Linked DNA regions of Homo sapiens: regions 1 and 2 are each linked to region 3. Evidence: promoter capture Hi-C in 16 types of primary human blood cells and fetal thymus (Javierre and others, 2016). All regions are on one chromosome and are shown on one strand. The core of a region is centred on a gene start or on the middle of the fragment in contact, and the rest is flanking DNA. Distances in the headings are between cores, read along the strand shown.

Region 1 (3,939 bases), core at 1,093-3,592, about 20 Mb after region 3:
TGCTCTGTTGCCCAGGCTGGAGTGCAGTAGCATGATCTTGGCTCACTGCAACCTCCACCTCCCAGGTTAAAGCGATTCTCCTGCCTCAGCCTCCTACAGGCATGCATCACCACACCTGGCTAATTTTTTTGTATTTTTAGTAGAGACGGGGCTTCATCAGATTGGCCAGGCTGGTCTTGAACTCCTGATCTCGTGATCCGCCTGCCTCAGCCTCCCAAAGTACTGGAATTACAGGCATGAGCCACCGCGCTTGGCCTCTATCTTTGCCTTTTGATCTGGATTGGAACCTTGATGATGGGAGCCAACAGCACCAGCTTCAGGGGCTCAGGCTTGGCTGGGAGGCTCAGAGGAGTTGGTAAGAGGGGGCGTAGGGGTGAAGAAGCAGGTGCCCTGTGAAGCCAGATCCTTTGCACACCTCAAACTCAGCCACGGTTTCTGGAAGCAGCATTTGGAAAATTCATGTTCTGGTGGGGCTTATTTCTGAATATAGGACTCATAAATAGCTGGATCTCTTGGCCTTTCAAAGAAAAGAAAAACCAAACTCATGACATCTCTTCCTTTGCATTATTTTCTCCAACTGTCAATCTTTAAACTGCTCTTTTTCTCACCCTTTCATTCTTTCCAGGCAAGGGCCCTCAGATACTTTCTTTCCAAATAGGGCTGATACTTGCATTTGAAGTGGAGTATTTCTTCCTTGCGTGGGACTGTCCTATGCAATGTAGGATATTTAGTATCCCCGGCCGTTCCTTCCTCTTATTGAATTCCAGCAACACCTGCCAGTCATCCAGGCACCGGCCCCACGAATTTCAGAACATCCCTTACAGAAGTGACACTGCGGCTCCTATACTTTGAAAAACATTGCCTGAATCCCCAAAGAAGTGACTAGCTCAAGGCCATACCACCAGCCAATGGCAAAGTGGAGATCAAGTCAAATCCCATTCATTCATTCATTCACTCATTCATTCCCGAAGCTTTAATTCTTTGCTCTAGGGTGTGTCAGGAGAGCAGAGGGAATGAGGGCCTTGAACCGAGACAGTGAAGAGGGTAAGAAGAAAAGTGTTATTCTTTGCCCACAAAACTACAATTTCTCACAAATTCTCTGCTCTTGCCAAATTTTGTTTTCCTCTTTTAGCCCGTCGGTTCCGCAATTTCGGGCGCAAATAAAGACCTTCTGGCATTTAGTGGAAAGAGCCTAGTTGAGCACGATCCGCAGAAGCGGAATCAGGTGGCTTTCGGATAGGCAGCGAGATCCGAGGACTAAATCCCGAGGTCTTGGCGAGCAAGCAGCTGCCCTCCGCCAGGCATCGAGGAGCGAGCTGCCGCCGCGTTTCTGTCGCGGCGCCGCGGCCGAACCGGGTAGAGGTGGTCTACCATCGGCCCTTCGTGGTGGGCCCAGGGGTGTTTCCCCGGGCAGGGGAGCTGACTGCAGGCCAGGGGCGCCAAGGCCGCGGTGCGGTGGGAGCAGAGGGCAGCGCAGCGGGGCTGGACTTCATCTTCCCACGCCAGAGGCCGAGGCCTCCGGGAATCGCAGGGCCACCTCTTCAAAGCCCTTGGCGATCCCAGTTCTGTTCCCCGAGGGGGCTGGCGAGGTGGGCGGGGCGGGCAGGCGAGACTAGGTCTTTCCCTGTTTGGCCTCCGTAGCCGGCGCCGGCGGGTCGTTCTGTTTGAATGAATGATCCCAGCAGCCGCGCCCAATGGGCGTCCACGCCTGCTTAATATGCATGAGGCCCGCAGCCAATGGCCAGGCGAGGAGGCTGTTTTAAACGGCAGAGCCCGCTGGCCAATCAGGCGGCTCTCGTGGAGGCAGCTAGCGCGAGGCTGGGGAGCGCTGAGCCGCGCGTCGTGCCCTGCGCTGCCCAGACTAGCGAACAATACAGGTACGTCTCGCACCGCCCGCTCCCGCCGCCGCCGCCGCCGCCGCCGCCGCCGCCGCCGCCGCCGCCGCCGCCGCCGCAGCGCCCGCACAACTTTCCGGCCCGCGCCGCCGTGAGCGCGCCCTGCCGCCGCCTCCCCCTGCCTCTACTCCCCATTCCCTTCCCGCCCCCTCCGCCTTCCCTCCTGCTAGGCGGCCGGGAAGGAAGAAGCAATTCAGGTGTTTCAACTTTTCCAACGCGTTCCCCGAGCTCCCCGCTTTCGGGGGTCGGCCCCCTCGGCGGACGCCCGCCCGTGGCGGCCCCAGGGGCCGCAGCCGGGAACCCAGGGCCCCCGAGGCCAGATGTTTGGGCAGCTGCGGCTGCGGCGGCTGGGCGAGCAGAGGGGCGGCTGCGGGCTGTGGGCGCTGGGCGGCGGCAGCGGGAAGGGGGCCGGGAGTTCCCCGGCCCGCGACGGACTCCGCTGGGGAACGGGCGGCCGGTGCCCGCCGGGGGCTGCGCGGCTGGTGCCCGCCGGGGGCCGCCGCACGGGCAAACTTCGCTCCCGGGCTTGGCCCGGCGCCGCGCGGGCCCGCAGGCTACGCCGCTGGCTCTGCGTTAACATGGCCGTCGCGGAGCGCCCGGTGGCCCGGGGGGGCGCGGGCCGGCCGCCCCCCTCTCGCCTCCCGCCCGCCCGGCGCCGCCGCCGCCGCTAACATGGCTGGCGCGGCGCTGGCCTCCGGCGAGGGCAGGGGAGGCGGGCGGAGCGGTCGGCGGGGCGCCCGGCGGGCTCCGGCCTCGGCCCCGGCGCCCGCGGCCCGGGGCGGGCGGCTCGGAGGGCCGGGGGCGCCGCTGCGGGCCCTGGAGCGGCCGAGCGTCATGGCTGCACGGGCGCCTTTGTTATCCCGAGGAGTGCGCCCCGCGCCGGGGGGCGGGGAGGTCCGGCCCGGGCCCCCGAGCCCCCGGGCGGCCCGGGCGGGGCGGGGCGGGGCGGGGTGGGGGCCGACGGGCGGGCGGCGGCGGCGGGGCCCGGGCCGCTTTGTTCGCCGCTGTCGCCGCCGCCCGCGCCGGCCGCGCGCGGATCAGCCATTTTAGCGAGTGGGACTCCGAGGCGCGGCGGACGCCGCCACCAGTGCCGCGGCTGCCGCCGGCCCGGCCGCACACCCCCCGCGCACCGCCACCGCCGCCGCCCCCGGCCCCGCGCGTCCCCCGGGGATGACAGCGGCGGATTTCAGGGGCACTTTCTTTCATCAGGAGGCTTTTGACAAAATGGAAGGTGAATTACGGGTGTCCCGGTGACCCGGCACGGGGGCCGAGGCGGGCTGCCTGCTGCCGGCCGGGACTCCCCCGCTCCCGGTCCCGCCCCGCCCGGGCCGCCGCTGCGGGTCTCTGTTGGGCAGCCTCCTGGGCGGCTGCTGCCAAGGGGAGCTCTTTAGTTTTACATGATGACCTTGGGTGTGGGAAAAGGAAAAGATGGCGGGAAGCTGGGGGGTGGGACAGGGACGATGACATGCCGCAGCTGCATTTTTATTTGGAAACTTTGGAGAAAGTGTTCTCGGCTGGACCTGCATTCTGGGTTACAGATGAGCACGACTAGCCCTTTTTATACACCCTCCCCCTTTAGATAGTGACGAAGTGATGAATTGAACTAATAGTACGGGGGTACCTGCTCACTTTCCAGATCTCCCGTGTTGTAAAGCCGTTTTTTTAGTAAGCCAAAACACATCAACAATAGTGACAATTTCAGATGTCCCCTACGTATAGTTCTCCTGCTTTGGTCTTGTGTTCAGCAGTGGTAAGAGTTGTTGTTTTTAATTGTGTTAACAGTTAGCAGATGACCAGATAGTCTTAAGTCATAGATTTCAAGCTTCTATCACCCCCACCAAATGTGTCCTCTCTCTACCCTTCCCACTTTGTGATTGTAGTTTCCAAAACATAGCAGTTCTGTAAACGTAACACTGAGTACCCTACTTGGGTCGGCTCCATTTGGAGCACTTGATCGCTTTTGAGAAGTAACTCGCAAACCAGCGCGCTTCGTGCTGGTCAAAAGTTAAATGACAAGCGACAATGAAGCTGATTTCTTTCCTAC
Region 2 (4,206 bases), core at 1-2,500, about 24 Mb before region 3:
AGATGGAATAAATGATTTGGGAAAGGGAAAGTCAGTATTGTTTTAGCCACATTGAGTCTAGTAGCTTTTACAATAGAAACGCCAGCATGAAGTATCAGGAATACTTCAAATACATGACTAGGAACATTTTGTTTAGGGATAAATTCATATGTACTAGAAACTATTTGCTTTTTTAAAAGCAAGGGAATTAATAACACAAAATTCCGGATAGTGGTCACCTCAGGGGGGAACGAAGGGAGGGAAGAGACACAGTAGACTTCTAAGGGACTGGCAATGTCCTATTTCTTAAGCTTGTAGTGGATGCGAACCTTTATTATTCTTTAAGCTGTATATATACATTATACATTATTTCGCATGGAGGAGATATCATAAAAAAATATTAAAGGTTAGTTTCAGGCAGGCAAAGTCATAAACGGTTTTTTAAAAGATGCAAGGAACTGACAGTGCAGGAAAGCATATCAGTAAGAATTTTAAATGCACTGCACTATTCCAGAGTGATGATTCTACTTGCAGAGTGAATCTAAAATTAATTTAAGCCCGTCAATAGTTAGGAGGCTCAGGCCATTTAGGCTCAAGCGGCCATTTACCTCAGGACAAGTAAGGGGAACTGAGCCCAGCAATGCCTTCCACCTCCCCTCCCCCCACCCCATAAATCGAACCGCTTTGGTGCTGTCCTTCCACATTTAGAAACAAAGTACCGCTCCCTTACTTTAAGATTCGAAAGCGCTACATGGTTTCGGGGCCCAAGCAAGTAGTCTTTAACACACAGACGTTGCAAATAAATGCGCCCGCCCCGAGCCTTTCTCAGGTGGAGGTGGAGGTAGGGGAGAACGGCGAGGGGCTGGCCCGAGGTACCTACATCTCCGGCGCCGGGAATTTGTCAGCCTCAAACCCTTTTGCCCAGCTGGGTCCGGGTGAAACGACGAAGCCGCAGCACCCGGCCAGCTCCCGGGGCCCGTGCCGGGAGGGCATTCCCACAGCAGCCGGCCCCGGTGGCAGCCCTTCCTGAACTTCGCTCTGCAGGCCTGTTCAGCCCGTCTCCCCTCCTCCCGTCTCCTTTGTCGTGTTCCCGCTCCCACGAAACCGCATCCTGAGAACGTGCAATACCCAAACCAGAAAGCAATGGAAGCCATTTTCAAAAGAAAAGGTAGAACAAAGCTCCCCTTGCCGCCTGCTCTTCAGACAAGTCCTTACCTCTTCATGTTTCCACAGGCCCCTACCTCCAACTTGGGTAAATAGGCCGCGGACCTCAAGTCCCAGAACTCCGCGCGGCGGACTTCTAAGGGTATTGTGATGGAGCATGGGGCTCTGGGAATTGTAGTAGCACAGAGCTATGGCAACAGAAAGAGAAAGTAGATCTCAAGTGACAGGTATGCTGAACATTGTCCAAATATTTATTTTGAATTTCTCATTTAGGTTCAAAAGAAGACCCAAAATATCCAGCTCATAAAACGAGTCACCTTTGACTTCTTGATTCTCTCATCCATTACCACTAATTCCTGGCTCTTCTGTAATTTCCTTTGAACTTATCAACACTGCTTTTCTTTCAAGGATTTATCCAGCCTACCTACCGTTTCCAGTCGAGCCTCTGCTTCATCCTTCACGATGTAGCCAGAGTCATCAGACACGAGTCTGACTATATCACCTGTACTAATGGTTCTCCTCTATCTGTAACAGAGACTTGAGAGTTTTCTCCACTCAGAATCAGAAGTCTGTGTATGTTCAGGCCCACATATGTTTTATTGATAATTATGGTGAATCAAGAAAGAGGTATAGTATAGTGGTTAAAAGCATAGGCTCTTAGTTTCCAGAAATGGAAATGCAAATGTCTTTAAGTGTATGAAAAGATGTCCAATCTCACAAATTTTAAAGTACACTGACTACCAGTACTCCTTAAAACTAGCAAGGTCATCAAAAACACAAGAATCTGTCACAGCCAAAAGGAACCAAAGGAGTCATGATGACTAAAGTAATGCAGTATCTTGGATGGGATCCTGGAAAAGAAAAAAAGACATGAGGTAAAAACTAAGGAAATGTGAACAAACTATGCTCTTTAGCTAATAACAAGGTTCGTTAGCTGTGACAAATGTATCAGAGTTATGCAAGGGAAACTGAGTTGTACGTATGTGGAACTTTGTACTATGCAACCTTTCTGTATCTAAAACTGTTCTAGAACTTAAAGTTTATTTTTAAAAGTACATTAAACTACCATTTTTCACCTAACAGATTGGGAAAGATCCAAAAGTTTGATAACACACTTGTTTTATTGAGATTGTGGGGAAACGGGCGCTCTCAATACACTAGTGGTAGGAATATAAATTGGTACAACATCTATTGGGGGCAAATGAGGATACTACTAAAATCATAAATGTACATTCCCTTTAAAGCAGCAATTCAGTTATGAATAGAATCCTCAATACTATATATCCTCTAACCTACTATCATTCCTTGCAACATTGTTTATGAAAACAGAAATGAAAATATCCAAGAACATACTATGAAAATGTATCATTCAATGAAAAACTATGCAGCAGTTACCAAGATGACAAAGTTCTCTATGAACTGCTACTAAACAATCTCCAAAATATAGTTAGTGCAATAGCAAGGTGCAGAACGATATGTATACTATGCTTCTATTTGCATAAAAAGGGGAGCTCTAGTCACTTAAAAACATATATATGTGTGTTTGCTTGTATATGCACAAAATATGTTTGGGAGAACTTACAGACAAATGATGAGTGAATGCCTCCAGGTAGGGGAACTGGATGGCTGAGGGACAAGGGCAGAAAAAATTCTTCACGTATCTTTTTGTGCCCTTTGAATTTTGAACCCATGACTACATTACCTAGTCAATACTTTTTTAATTAAAGAGAAACCCTCTTACATCTCAAGAAGCCAAAGAAGAAAAGATTGTAGGTAATGGTGGGGGGCGGGGCACACTACTTGGATTTGAATCTCACTTCTCAGTTGACAGTATAGCACGACAGGGTTTTAGAGGCAATCTGGACTTGAATTTTTGCTCTGGTAAGTTACTAGACCATGTGGGTTTCAGTAAGTTTCTTAACTGGTCTAGGCCAGTTTTCTCATCTGTAAAATGAGGATACCTCCTAAGTATAGGGTGACTGTCAAGCACATACAAAGGTATGGTTTTAAAGTTATTCCATGATTGAGTGGTAATCTATGAGTAAATAGTCAAATGTTAATCAGTAGATTTAGACTTATCCAAACTGCTTTGTATTTCCATGCTCAAGTTAGAGCAAAGGACCAAAAAGCAGCTACTGAAAAACATTGTAGAATTTCCTGTCCTGAGAACTTCTATCAGATTGAAAATGTCATGGTGAGCTACCTAAGACCTGTCACATGCAAATAACTGTGCTCTTGAATCATAAAGGTGAATGACTGCAGGCATAGCATGTACCACTTTGTAGCTTTGGCACAGAACGTGAACTGAATATAAGTATAAACAAAACGGGGGGTCACATCATTGCCTGCACCAGGTAAATCCTATATGGTGGTAGAGCTGAATTTTGTGGCTCAACCAATCTGTCCCAATTGACATATTGACAAGGAAATGGAAAAATACACCAAGGTTGCTAGTGTGCTTATCCCCTGGGACGGTGGCAAAGGATGGAACAAATATTACACCAACCATCACACCAAACTTGTGTACAACTTCTAATAAAACATATAGCCTATTGATACTGAAATGATACACACTACATTGCAAATCCACTAGGTGGGATGAGTGGAGAACGAATAGCTAAGATACATATTCACATAGCTGTGGAATTGCAACTGGAAAGCAAGGTCATAAGAAGTACTCTACATACCTGTGTATAACTGTAACCAGCGCAAGTGATAGGTACAAACAGACAAACATTCAGAAAATTACACTAAAAAGAAAACCAGGCCATTTCTAATTCTGCCAAACTTGTTAACTGTGTAATAATAGTTATTCTGTTTCCCACAACATTCTTCTCCCCAGCTTAAAAGGACATCAGACAGTGTATACAAAGCCTTGGAGATCTCTAGATGTTATACATGGGCACAGAGATCTTACCTAATTTCACAATTTTACCCCTAGAAGAATTTATGACAAACCGAAAAATATGCCTCATTTGTCTTTCTGTCAATTTAACAAGGTTAGTTTAATTAATCCAGAAGCTCCTTCTTAACAGAGACACATTTTCTGAGTTTGTCCTTTTT
Region 3 (3,859 bases), core at 1,051-3,550:
GCAGAGGTCATGAAAGAGATCTAGTGTCCCAGGTAACTTCTTAAAATGCTAAAATAAAATACATCCAAAGTGCTATCAAGGTCCAAATAGCTTAGAGGTATGATATGTGTTATAAAGAGAATCATCTAATTCAGAAATAGCCGTACTGACTATGGTTTTGGCAGACACAATTAGCTACAGTTGCAATGACAGTTAATTTGGTTTTGGCAGCTACTTTACAGCAAATACATTCTGACATAGAAATTTTAAGTGAATCATTTGGGTTTTGGCCAGGATGATGAACTATACCTATCTCTCCTTACCACAACTGGAAAGTCAAGAACAAGAAAGAACATTGGGAGCAGCAAACCATGTTGAACAGAGCATGGGCTTTGGAGTCAGAAATCTGTACACCCAAACCTCAACTCAACTTATAATCTATGTGACTTTAAGTAGATTGTTTAACTTCTGTGCATTTTAGTGTTTTCTTCTAGAAAAAGAAACAGGAATAATAGTACCTACTTCATAACACTCAAGATAATGCAACAAAGTATTTATGATGATGACTAGGACATTATGTGGGTTCAATAAATAGCAGTCATTATTGTCACCCAATGAGATGACTACAGTTCAGATAATGTGATGCACGGGGACAGCAAATGCATTTCTTAAGAAAATATATCGATGTCTCTAGGCTTTAAAGTTGACAGCTATAGACTGTAGCTAAGAATAGCTACAAACAAAACATCTGCAAGACAAGCTTCTTCTTGGATTTAAACTCACACCTGGAACATACCATCACACTTCTTTGTGTTCTCCAAGAATTGATCTCAAATCAGGTTCCCTAGGATGAAAAGAAAAATCATCCAATCTTAATTTTTGCCTTCAATTTTATTTGATACAGAATAATATCCAAACTATGTGTATGTTTCAAAGTATCATGTTATTATGACCCCAAGCTTCTCCACCCTATTTATTTCCCAGTATATTTGTGCTGATATCTTTTATTCCAATCAGGCAAGCCCACCTGTCTCACAGTGCTCCCTCTTCTGTTTACCCTTCTCAAAGTCCAATCTCAGTAGCAGGAAGCATTTTCTCCCTCCTCTTTGACAACTTCAAATCCCCTGTACTCTGCTGGAGCCCAGATTAAAATTCACCTCCTTCACAAAGCCTGAAAGCCGGATGAGGGCTTCAGCACTTCCCGGGTTAGGCTTGAACTTCCATAGATGAACTCACCACCCCCATCAGTATGCTCTTCCACTGACCCCTCTTAGCGTTTTTTGCACACGTTTGTAATAATACAATGATTAATATGGTCTGTTTCACACGGTCTACTTTATTCTGTAGAATAAAGGTGTGCCCCCTAAATGTTTGTCAACATTAGTGCTATCAGTCTTTGCTGGAAACCCCTAAAGCGCTGGATTTTTATAACCAGTCTAACTTGCCTTTTACTCTCACCAGAACCCTGCACTGAACCTTAAACACACATTTCTCAAAAGCAAGATTCCTTCCCTCTTTTGCTTCCCATCCCTTCTAGAAATTGAGGGGAAACTCTCCCCACTTCAAAGACCTGGTGGGGGAAGTGGCAGGTGGCTGAGGGGCCAGTAAAGAGATGGCGATCAATTAAGGAGGCAAAAAGAGAAAGTTTGAAAAAAAAAAGTCACGCCCTGAGCGTGGCAAGGAATTCCCATGCCCCAAAGAAAATGGGGAGTGTAGCGCAGGGAGGGTTATGTGCCCAAACCTGAAATACAAATTGAGGGAAAAGAGGAAAGAGATCACCCAATTCCTGCGGTAAGAATTAGAGTCCAGTCACCGCCTAGGCAAAACCCTGGACGCAAACCCCAACTTCGGACCTCTGAGGAGGCACAGAGCCAGGGGGAGGGGGGCGGCGTCGTGGGAAAAAAAAAAAGGGGCGGGCGAGTTGGACCAAAAAAAAAAAAAAAAAAGAGCAAAGACAGCGCGCTCCCGGGCTCAAGAGAACTGGCGCCTAGAGCTCAAAAGCCCACCCCCGACTCCCAGTCCCGATACCCCCTCCCCTGCAGAGGTGGAGCTGGGTGGAGTTAGGCGCTGAGGACCGCGGCCCCGGAAGCACCCTCCTCCCTAGGCCCCCTCAGTCCCACAGTCCCCAGCCACGGCCACCGGGGCTTTCTGCCTCTCTGACCTCCAGCTCCCCGGCTACCGAAGCGCTAGTCCTTATACAGCCGCGGAAAATCGGGCCGGCGCGGCAGTTCCTGGGCTCGTAGTGCCCTCGCGGCGCCCCACGCCGCGCCACTCTCTTCCGAAATGCCCGCCTCGCGCTTCCAGGCCTAGACCCGGCACTCTGGCCCAAGGCTGGACTCTCACACACAGGGTGCCCACTGCGGCGTCTCCTATTGGCTACTGGTCACCGGGGAAGCCGGAGGCCCGAGCCCATGGCTTCATGGGAAATGTAGTTTGAGGTCGCTGGAGGCTGTTCTTCCTGGGGGTAACTCGTGTTGACATTGGCAGACAGACACAAGTGAGGACCGAGAATTATGGGAGATGGAGTTGCGGGACACTTATTTCTCTATACGCACAATTCTTCCCCTCCCCTTCCGATTGTCCCCAGCGTTCAGACGGGGAAGGGTATTCTGGGTATTGTAGTTTGGGTGCACTGTCTAGAGAATCTCTCTTGGGGTTATGGGTTTGTGCTTGTGGGGACAGACGAAGGCTCTAGATTTATTTTCATGTCGGTTAAGCTCTTAGCATTTTGCGGGAAGCACTTTCTATCGTGATTTGAAATTGTTATTGAGTTTTAAGTGTTTTTCAAAAGATGATGTTTATTCTTTGGTAAGCTTAGAATTTTAATTGAGAGTTATAGTCCTTTAAAATTGTTAAAGTGTGTTCCTTGTGAACCACCTGCATTAAAATCACTTGAAAGGTATGGAAGAATGTATATATTTTTTTCTAATTGGAAATTATAGTTCCCCCTGGAAACAGTGTCATAAATAGGCATAGAAATGTGATCTACACCAGCCCAGAAGAAGCCTATTTAATCCATAATGAAGCTATGTTGTTGCCATGAAAAACAGTGGCCACATAAACTGCTATAAATAACAATTTAGAACAGATAGACAATACAACTTAAGTACAAACGAGTAACTATATGTGTCTTTAAGAAACTTAACCTTTTGAGTAAAAATATGTTACAAGAGCTGGATAAAGACATAGGTGGGGAATGCCAAGCACTTCCAAGTGACTTAAAGGTTGAGGAAAATGGTTGTTTATTAGGGCTAATTTCACTCCCAACTTTTGACCTTTTTTTTTCTCTGTTAGAGATGAATCCTTGTAGCCTTGTTACAGTTGAATTACTACAACTTCTTGATGAGGACAACTTTTCGACTCACGAGTAAAATGAAGGGAAAGACAGGGGAATTGCATTTTGCTGAGGTAATTGCCCAATATTTTAAAAAGATAAGTGAAGGAGGAAGACGATTTAATAAATTCAACCATTTATTCAGCATAGTGCTTTGTGCAAAGCTCTGGGCTAGGCACTGTTGCCACAGAATTGGAAAAATAGTCCCTACCCTCAAGTAGCTCAAAATCCAGGTGAGGGGAGTTGTAGTAGAGGAGAATCTGGGGGGAGGAATAGATGAGTATACAATGTGCAAAATGCTGTAAAGAAGTCTACATAGGGTTCTATAGGAACATAGAGGAGGAAGAACTTGTTCTACTTCTGGAGAACTGGTTGAAGAACCAGTAAAATATTTGTCAGATTTGGGGCAGGGAGGTCAACCATATTCTATACAAAGCATATGCAAAGGCATAAAGGCATGAAAGAGTGCAGAGAACAATAGCAAAAGTTCCATATTGCAGAGACTAGATCAGGCAGCAACAAGGGGTCATATCAATTAGTTCATAA

What was found. The method cuts DNA at HindIII sites, captures the fragments that hold promoters and counts their contacts. A CHiCAGO score of 5 or more calls a contact.
Region 1: a fragment that was not itself captured here is called in contact with the fragment with the promoter of ENOX2 in region 3 in 1 of 17 cell types (total B cells); the score reaches 6.4 in total B cells.
Region 2: the fragment with the promoter of RBM41 here is called in contact with the fragment with the promoter of ENOX2 in region 3 in 3 of 17 cell types (activated CD4 T cells, total B cells and non-activated CD4 T cells); the score reaches 12.3 in activated CD4 T cells.

The regions. Positions count from the first base shown.
Region 1 is chrX:150,981,500-150,985,438 of GRCh38, forward strand. HMGB3 (high mobility group box 3) reads left to right here and starts at 1,836. Exons shown (of 5, transcript NM_005342.4): 1 at 1,836-1,877. RefSeq lists an enhancer at 850-1,545 and a silencer at 1,667-1,866. The HindIII fragment of the contact is 2,746 bases long and covers 970-3,715 here.
Region 2 is chrX:107,117,572-107,121,777 of GRCh38, forward strand. It overlaps RBM41 (RNA binding motif protein 41), which reads right to left and starts at 1,251. Exons shown (of 8, transcript NM_001324242.2): 1 at 1,195-1,251. The coding sequence starts at 1,202. RefSeq lists enhancers at 555-634, 1,015-1,204. The HindIII fragment of the contact is 8,519 bases long and covers 289-4,206 here.
Region 3 is chrX:130,900,909-130,904,767 of GRCh38, forward strand. ENOX2 (ecto-NOX disulfide-thiol exchanger 2) reads right to left here and starts at 2,301. Exons shown (of 15, transcript NM_006375.4): 1 at 2,141-2,301; 2 at 776-823. RefSeq lists enhancers at 1,667-2,186, 2,047-2,316, 2,187-2,706, 2,327-2,516. The HindIII fragment of the contact is 1,854 bases long and covers 937-2,790 here.